3 separate regions of the Homo sapiens genome follow, and regions 2 and 3 are each linked to region 1. The links are contacts of gene promoters, found by promoter capture Hi-C in blood cells and fetal thymus (Javierre and others, 2016). All regions are on one chromosome and are shown on one strand. The core of a region is centred on a gene start or on the middle of the fragment in contact, and the rest is flanking DNA. Distances in the headings are between cores, read along the strand shown.

What was found. Contacts are between HindIII fragments. The CHiCAGO score rates a contact against its expected background, and 5 or more counts as called.
Region 2: a contact is called between the fragment with the promoter of GFPT1 here and the fragment with the promoter of FAM136A in region 1, in 6 of 17 cell types (total B cells, fetal thymus, non-activated CD4 T cells and 3 more). The highest score is 11.4, in total B cells.
Region 3: a fragment that was not itself captured here is called in contact with the fragment with the promoter of FAM136A in region 1 in 9 of 17 cell types (naive CD8 T cells, naive CD4 T cells, non-activated CD4 T cells and 6 more); the score reaches 8.5 in naive CD8 T cells.

The regions. Positions count from the first base shown.
Region 1 is chr2:70,300,768-70,303,400 of GRCh38, forward strand. It overlaps FAM136A (family with sequence similarity 136 member A), which reads right to left and starts at 1,300. Exons shown (of 3, transcript NM_001329752.2): 1 at 837-1,300; 2 at 73-213. The coding sequence starts at 1,244. RefSeq lists enhancers at 1-585, 586-1,534 and a silencer at 1,220-1,489. The HindIII fragment of the contact is 2,364 bases long and covers 995-2,633 here.
Region 2 is chr2:69,385,879-69,388,511 of GRCh38, forward strand. It overlaps GFPT1 (glutamine--fructose-6-phosphate transaminase 1), which reads right to left and starts at 1,349. Exons shown (of 20, transcript NM_001244710.2): 1 at 1,187-1,349. The coding sequence starts at 1,193. RefSeq lists silencers at 929-1,598, 1,659-1,768 and an enhancer at 1,141-1,700. The HindIII fragment of the contact is 6,543 bases long and covers 1-2,633 here.
Region 3 is chr2:70,923,233-70,925,865 of GRCh38, forward strand. The region is part of intron 2 of VAX2 (ventral anterior homeobox 2); the gene reads left to right. Among named protein-coding and RNA genes, the nearest start is that of ATP6V1B1, 11 kb to the right of the region's middle. The HindIII fragment of the contact is 8,926 bases long and covers 1-2,633 here.

The DNA.
Region 1 (2,633 bases), core at 50-2,549:
GAACAAATGCTTGTCATCTCCTGCAAAAGTCTGTATCAAGGACTACAGTGCTCTGTCTAGGATATTTCTCACCTGGAACTTCTCCAGCTCACTGGTGACCAAAGCCTGGGCTTGAGCCAGAGGCACATGGCAGCGCTCGATGCACTGGTGCACCTGCTTCATGGAGGCCTGGCTGTCCTCACAACAGCTGGCGCTGCACCGGAACATGAGACCCTGGGGAGAAAGGGCAGAGAGGTTAGGTAGGAAAGTCTCTGGGGACAGAGATGACTATGGAGCACTACAGGAGTTAGAAGGCCACGTGGATATTTGCACCTCTCTCTCCACCTTCTGCTTTCACCTTCCCTGAGAATAGACACCAGGACCTTAAAACCACCACTGGGGAAAATTATCCTCAATGTCTAGTGTAGTGTTTCATGGTGTCCTTGCTGCTAGCTCATCGGCACCTGTTGCACCGATGGTTGGGTGAACAGAGGTTCGCCCGAGTGGGTGAGGGTAGGGTGGTCTGACGAAGCCAAATTCTGAAAACCAGGAGCCTCTTCCATGGGGTTCAGAGGTCAGCAACCTAGCAATACAAATTCCACCAGAGGGCAGCCGACCCACTAATCAATGACTCAAGGGGCACTATCTGGGAAACGCATACTCCGTGAGAGAAGCAGGACCGAAACACACAGAGGCATTGCGGGGCTCAGAGAAGAACAGTGTAGAAACCCGCGCTGTGTGAAGCGAGGTTGGGCGCAAGAGAAGCAGGCATGACCTGGCCAACGGGGAGGCCGGAAGTCCTCGCCTTTCTGGTCTTTCACGTTGGCAGCGCCTCTGCTGGGCCTCGGGCCGCTCACCTGCGGAAGGGGCCGCGTAAGAGGGGAAGGTGGTGGGGCGAGCGCCTGCCACCAGGGGCTTCCCACCTGCCGCCGAGGACGCTCCTGCCCCGGGCTGGAAGGGGCGGAAAACAGCCTCGCGCACGGCAAGGGCACACGGATTTCATCCGATCCGCCAAAGCTTCCGAAGTCCTGTCCGAGGCCGCCCCGGCGACCCCAGGGCCGCCCACACCCGGTCTGCGGGGACGCGGCTGCAGTGCAAGGCGTCGCGTGGTGGCTGAGGGAAGGGCCCGGAACCCACCCGCTGAGAAGGGGGTCCTGGTTCGGCCCCAGCCCCGCTACCTGCATCTTCCGGATGTTCTCTCTTTCCAGACTCTTCACCATGGACTCCACCGCCTCCTGCACCCGGAGCTGCTGCAGCTCAGCCATGGCGACCCCGCGCTGCCCCGCGGCGCTCCGCGCCGGCGCCCATATGGAATCGGCGTACGGGCCCGCCCCCTCACCGCCCTTCGCCGCCCTTCGCCGCCTGCCCTTCCAGGGCCCACGCCCCCCCCTGGCGGCCGAACGGAGCCACTGCATGCTGGTGTCCGCGAGCCCACCGCCCTCCTCCCGCTTGGGAACCGGTCACTGGGACACCTGCCCTGCGGCTGCTGCCTGCCTTTCCTCCTCCCTCCCATGTCCCTCCCTTTACATTCTTTAAAATTATTTAATGTAATTTACATACAGATAAATGCCCAGATCTTAGGCGTGCTGCTTGATGAGTTTTAACAAACCCTGTCCGCCGGGCGCAGTGGCTTACGCCTGTAATCCCAGCACTTTGGGAGGCCGTGGGCAGGTGGATGACCTGAGCTCAGGAATTTGAGACCAGCCTGGCCAACCTGGCGAAACCCCGTCCCTACTAAAAATACAAAAATTAGCCGGGTGTGGTGGCACATGCCTGTAGTCCCAGCTATTTGGGAGGCTGAGGCAGGAGAATTGCTTGAACCCGGGAGGGAGAGGTTGCAGTGAGCCGAAATCACGCCATTGCACTCCAGCCTGGACGACAGAGTGAGACTCTGTCTCTAAACAACAATAAAAACCCAAACTCTGTCTTGTCCCAATCTCCGTCCTTTCTACCCCATCTCCCCACCCCTGCCCTAACTGGTCTGCTTCTGTCACTGTAGATTACATTTTCTCTTTCTAGAATGTCATATGTATGTTATTATCCAATAAGTACTCCTTTTCTGTCTGGCTTTTTTAGCATATTGCTGAAAAATACTTAGCCTAATGCTTTCGAGATTGAGCTGTGTTGTTGGTTCTTTTTTGCTGCTGAGTAGTATTCTATTGAATGGACATACCACATTTGTCGTTGTTGTTTTTTGAGACAGGGTCTTACTCTGTCACCCAGGCTGGAGTGCAGTGATGTGGTCTCGGCTCATGCAGCCTCCACCTCCCTGGTTCAAGTGATTCTCATGCCTCAGCCTCCCGAGTAGCTGGGATTACAGGCATGTGCCACCACGTCTGGCTAATTTTTTTTTTTTTTTTGTAGACACGGGGTTTCACCATGTTAGCCAAGCTGGTCTCCAACTCCTGAGCTCAAGGGATCCACACACCTCGGCCTCCCAAAGTGCTGAGATTGCAGGCATGAGGCATCGGTCCCGGCCCACATTTGTTGATCCATTCCCCTGCTGATGGGTGTTTGGGTCTTTTCCACTTAGTAGCTATTATGAATAAAGTGGTGACTATGAACATCCTTGACCATTTTTTTTTTCTTTTGGAGATGGGATCTTGCTATGTTGTCCAGGCTGGTCTCAAACTCCAGGCCTCAAGCTATCCTCC
Region 2 (2,633 bases), core at 99-2,598, 910 kb before region 1:
CAGAAGCTGAAATGAGCATAAAGTTAAATACAGGAAATATATACACTAACGAGTACAATCCACCTCCTGTTCAGTTCCTTCGTGTAAAAGGCTGCAAATAAGAAGTCTCCCAGAGAGTTTTCAATTCTCTTACAATGGTACTTCCCTTTAAAAAAAAAAAAAAAAAGTGTACTTTCTTCCAGGGATAAAGTCGGTTGTAAATTTCAATAAGAAAGGTAAGAATACAATTATTTTTACTGGCAATAGCCAAATTAACACCAATTTTAGAAGATATCAGTCATGTCAGACACGATTCTCAAAGTCTCTTTCACTAACACTTAGGTCATAATAAACGACTCTCAAAACATGGAATAAAAGGGCCTAACCTTAATTTTTTAAGGCTCTAGGAAAGATATTTGCTCAACTTTCCATAGCTAGTATTTTTAATGGATGCACATGCAAGGGATAAATGATATTTTTCATAGTTGGTATTCTAAAGGGGTATACATCCAAGGTATAACTGATATTTTTCAGAGCTGGCATTTTTAATGGGTGCACACGCAAATGATAAATTATGTATAACCTATCGCCACAGACATTTGAAGGCCTCTTCCACCAGAGGATCAGGTCTAAGCCCATGAACCAAGTTATTGATTAGCAATGGTTTCTGTTGAGACAAGGGATGGCAGGAAGTATCACGTTTAATGGCACTACCGTGGCTCTAGCTAGGGTCTGTTTTCTATTGGGCCTCCCCAGAAACAAGTAAAATATTTTTTTAAAGATTTTTAGAAAAATGCAAGGTAAGTTCAAGAGACCTCGCCCGAGGTTCCACAGGTTTCCTCACTCACCTGGTGGGCCCTTTTGAAGGCAACCCCCTCCACACCTCAATTCCCTCAGCTCTCTCCTCCTTTTTCAATAAAGGCGTTTCTCTCCCCTTTCGGTTCCTTCTCCGCGCCAAGGCGCCCGCTAGCCCCCGGCAAAGGGGGCCCGCCTTCCTCTCAGGTGCCTTTCTCCCGGCCGCCACCCCCTCTCCCGCCCGTGGATGCCGGCCCCCGCCCCCGCAGCCACCACTGGGCGCCCCTTGCCCATCACCCAGACTTCGCACCCTCCACACTCCCGCTTCCGCCCGTCGCCTTGGGCCTTAGCGGCACCCGCACCGCACCCCAGCGCCACCCGGCAACACGCCCCCCGCTCCCGGCCCCCTTACCACACATGATGCCGGAGACACGGCCCGCGAGGCCAGGGGCGAGTGGCTGGCGGGATCGGGGGTGCACACACGAGCTTCGGTGGGCAATCTGCGGGCTCGGGGGCCGGGGTGGCGCCGACACGACTCCCTCGGGGATGCGACGGCCAAGGCAACGACAGCCTTCTCCGCCTCCCGGGCTCCGCCAGCAACCGCCGCCGGGCCCCGCCCCTCGGCGCGCAGCGCGCCGCCGCCCGTAGGCTCCATTGAACCGCTCACGCGCCGCTCACGCGCAAGTCCCGCCTCCCAGCGCTGCCCCGCCCCCCGAGCCCACGCAGGCGCTGGACTGCTGGCGGCGGCGACGTGGCAGTGGCTCGTGGCCGCGTCCGCCTGGAGTTCCTGGAGACGCCCGCCCCGGGGCGAGCCGCGGGAGGGACCGAGCCGAGAGGGAGGGAGAAACTCAGCACCTGGCAGGGAATGACGGAAAGAGAAGGATGGAATTGTTAGCAAAGCAATAGCCCGGGTGCGTGCCCCGTGCAGCCCCAGGCCCCAGGCGCCAGCACTGCACGAAGCGAGGAAAGAGGAGGAAAAAAGCAGGAAGTATGAAAAGGGAATCCTGGGGAACATAAGGCTGAAAAAAATTGCAAAGAATTAGGTTGAGGTGGGAGGAGAGAGATAACAAAATTCTTGACTGTAAAGCCCCAAAGGTCAGCCTCTCTGGTAATAAGCAATTCAATTCCTTGTGTAATATGCTTGGCCCCTAAAAGCCCTCCGCATCCGTTGCCTCCATAACCCTCAGTTTATTGTGGAGGGGTAGAGGAGGAATGTAAGGCTCAACTATCCGACTATGAGCCTGGACGTAAGAAACTGCTGGCCCACCTCCTCCCATGACCCACCTGAGACGGCTAGGAATTCCCTAGCTTTAACAGCCGCGCGTTTGACTTACGAACGATTCATTCTATGAATTAATGCGCCATGTCTGACAAGAGAGACTTGATTAGAGAGGGATGATGTTTCTGAGAATTTATTACCTGGGCATTTGCTTTAAACAGCCTTAAATGGTATCTTTAGTCAAATGTGGAGTAATCAGAACTCTATAATGGCTCTAGAGTAGAGTAGTATCAAAAACGTACATGGCACACAGAATTCCTGGAGTGCTGACTGCTGTTCATGTGTCTGGTCTTAGCCTGCTGACTGCTGTTCATGTGTCTGGTCTTAGCCGTCCTTCCAGCCCTATACACTCCCAACAGGCTCAACAGGTAGTTCCTCAACTGGGCCAAGATTCTCAAATCTTTTGCACACTTTGGTTACTCTGCATAGAATCCCCACCACGTCTCTGTTTAGATGCTACCTCTTCAGGAAAGCCTTTTTTATCCCCCCTAGACAGACTTGGAGACATGCATTAACCTCTTACTCTTTGAGCTACTCACTGTAAAGAAATATTCTTTGATATTTTATGATTTTCTGTATT
Region 3 (2,633 bases), core at 73-2,572, 620 kb after region 1:
CTAGGGTTGACAGATAGTAAAAGTAATGGACAGCTGATGCTTATTGAGCGCTTCCCATGCACCAGGTCCTGTTCCAAGGGTGTGACATAGTCTAACTAGTTTAGTCCTCACCACAACCTTATGGGATACGTGTGAGATTTTTCTTCCAACACCAGGTGTATGGTATGTTCCAACCACCAGCAGGCAGTGCTCCAATTCTCCAGCATCACTGAGTATATTCAACAGTTCAATACTGACACTAATTCCCAGAGCTAGCACAGACCCTACAAGTTAAGGGCTCTGTCCCACAAGACAGTGCCACAGCAGACTCAAGTTCCAGGAGCCACCTGTGCTTCTGAATGGACTGGCCTAAAACCGGGGGCTCCCACATCGCCCTCTGCAGGTTTGACAATTCACTAGAATGACGCACACAACTCAGGAAACACCTCCCCTACACTTGCTGGTTTATTATAAATGACACGAGTGAGGAAGAGCCAGATGGAAGAGACACAAAGGGCAAGGTAAGGGGGAGGTGCGTGGAGCTCCCATGCCGTTTCCAGTGCCCCCATTCCCAGCACTTCCACGTGTTCGCCAACCAGAAGTTCTCCTGGTCTCCTTGTTCAAGACTAAATCCAGGCCGGCCTGGCACAGTGGCTCACGCCTGCAATCCCAGCACTTTGGGAGGCCAAGGAGGGAGGATTGCTCAGGAGTCCAGGAGTTCAAGACCAGCCTTGGCAGCAGAGGGAGACCTTATCTCTAAAAAAAGTTTTTTAAAACATTTTTTACAGTTTACACTGTAAACTGCAGGGTGTGGTGGCACACACCTGTAGTCCCAGCTACTTGGGAGGCTGAGGTGGGAGGATTGTTTGAGCCCAGGAGGTCAAGGCTACAGTGAGCCATGTTAGCTTCACTGCACTCCAGCCTGGATGACAGAGCAAGACTCTATCTCAAAAACAAACAAAAAAAGACTATAATCCAATCTCCATTCCCCTCCCCTCCCTAGAAGGAAAGAATGGGGGCGGCTGAAAGTTTCTACCCTCTAATCACAAGTATGGTCTTTCTAGAACCAGCCCCAGTCCTGAAACTACCTAGAGATCCACCCTGAATCACCTCATTAGCATACAACAGTAAGTCTTATTTATTTATTTATTTATTTATGTTTACTGTAGAGACGGGGTCTCGCTTTGTTTCCTAGGCTGGCCTGGAACTCCTGGTCTCAAGTAATCCTCCCTCCTCGGCCTTCCAAAGTGCTGGGATTATAGGTGTGAGCCACCATGCCCAGCCAATAAGAGTATATTGTTTCCACTTTAAATAGAAGGAAACTGAGGCATAGAAAAGTTAAATAGATAACTTGCTCAAGACTTGCAGCGGGTGCATTCATGGGTAATAGTACCCATGAAGATGGCTTTATGGGTACTATTATCCCCATTTAAGCAAACTGAGCCTCAGAGAGGTTAACTAACTTGTAGCTAGAATTCTGTGGCATTCTCAGTATGTTCACCCATAATTTTGTTCAAAAATATTATTGAATACCTACTATATAGCAGGTACTCTTCTAGGCACTTGGGCTTTGGCTTAGAACAAAACAGACCAGGCATCTGCCCTCGTGCAGCTAAGATCCACAGAGACAAAGACAAACCGCATTTCCAGGAGTGATGAGTGTTGTGAGGGAGCTCAAATGGGGTCATAGGAGAGAGACTAAAAGGAAGTGTTTTACTGGGGTGTTCAGGGAAGGCCTCTTTGAGAAGATGACGTTGAGCTTAGGCCTGAGTGGCAAGGGAGAAACAGCCAGATGAGGAGCCAGAAGGAGACGTCAAGGCAGACGGTAACTATGAAGACGTGAGGGGCAGGAATTGGCATAGAATGTTCTAGAAGTATCAGAAGGCCAGAGTGGCTGGAGCTACAGGGTAATTGGGTAAGTAGGTAGGGGAGGATCATGCGATGCTTAGAGACTATGGTAATACATTGAAGAGAAAGTGACAGGAGATGATTGGCATTTTACAGAGGTTCTCTGGCTGCCACTTGGGGAAGGGACCCACAGGGGAAAGGAGTGGACAGGTGTGGACAGGTAGGAACTACTGACATGGGTCCTGAACAGAGCAGTGGTGGAGGAGAGAAGCGTACTAATGTGAGAGGCACTCTAATTTAGTGCTGGAACATATTAGGACTTGCTCATGGATTATACGCCCAGGGCAAGGGAAAGGAAGTGGTTTGGGTAGAACAACTGGGAGAATGGTGACACCATATAATGAGTTGAGAAACTGGGGGAGAAGCAAGATGGTGGGAGCATAATCAAGAATTTTGTTTTGGATCAGTTAAGTTTGAGATCCCAGCGGAGATGTCAAGAAAGCATGTCAGATTTTGGGGGGAGGGCTGGTTTTTCTCTGGTTTAAGTTATCTGAGAGTCTCTGTCAGAGCTCTTTTGGGGGAAAAGATAAGAAATTCCTTCAAGTGCCCTCAGATAATGGATGGACTCCCCAGGGATTAAAAACAGAAGCCATAGCCTTGTTGAAATTCAATAACAGGAACCATGGTGTAGCCAGGAATTGGAAGAGACTGGAAGCCAAAGGCTCTTTTGGGCCCGAGGGATTCAGCACCAGCTACTCACAGAACTTCCTCCCAGTGCTCTGCTGAGTATGTGCTCCAACTGCTCT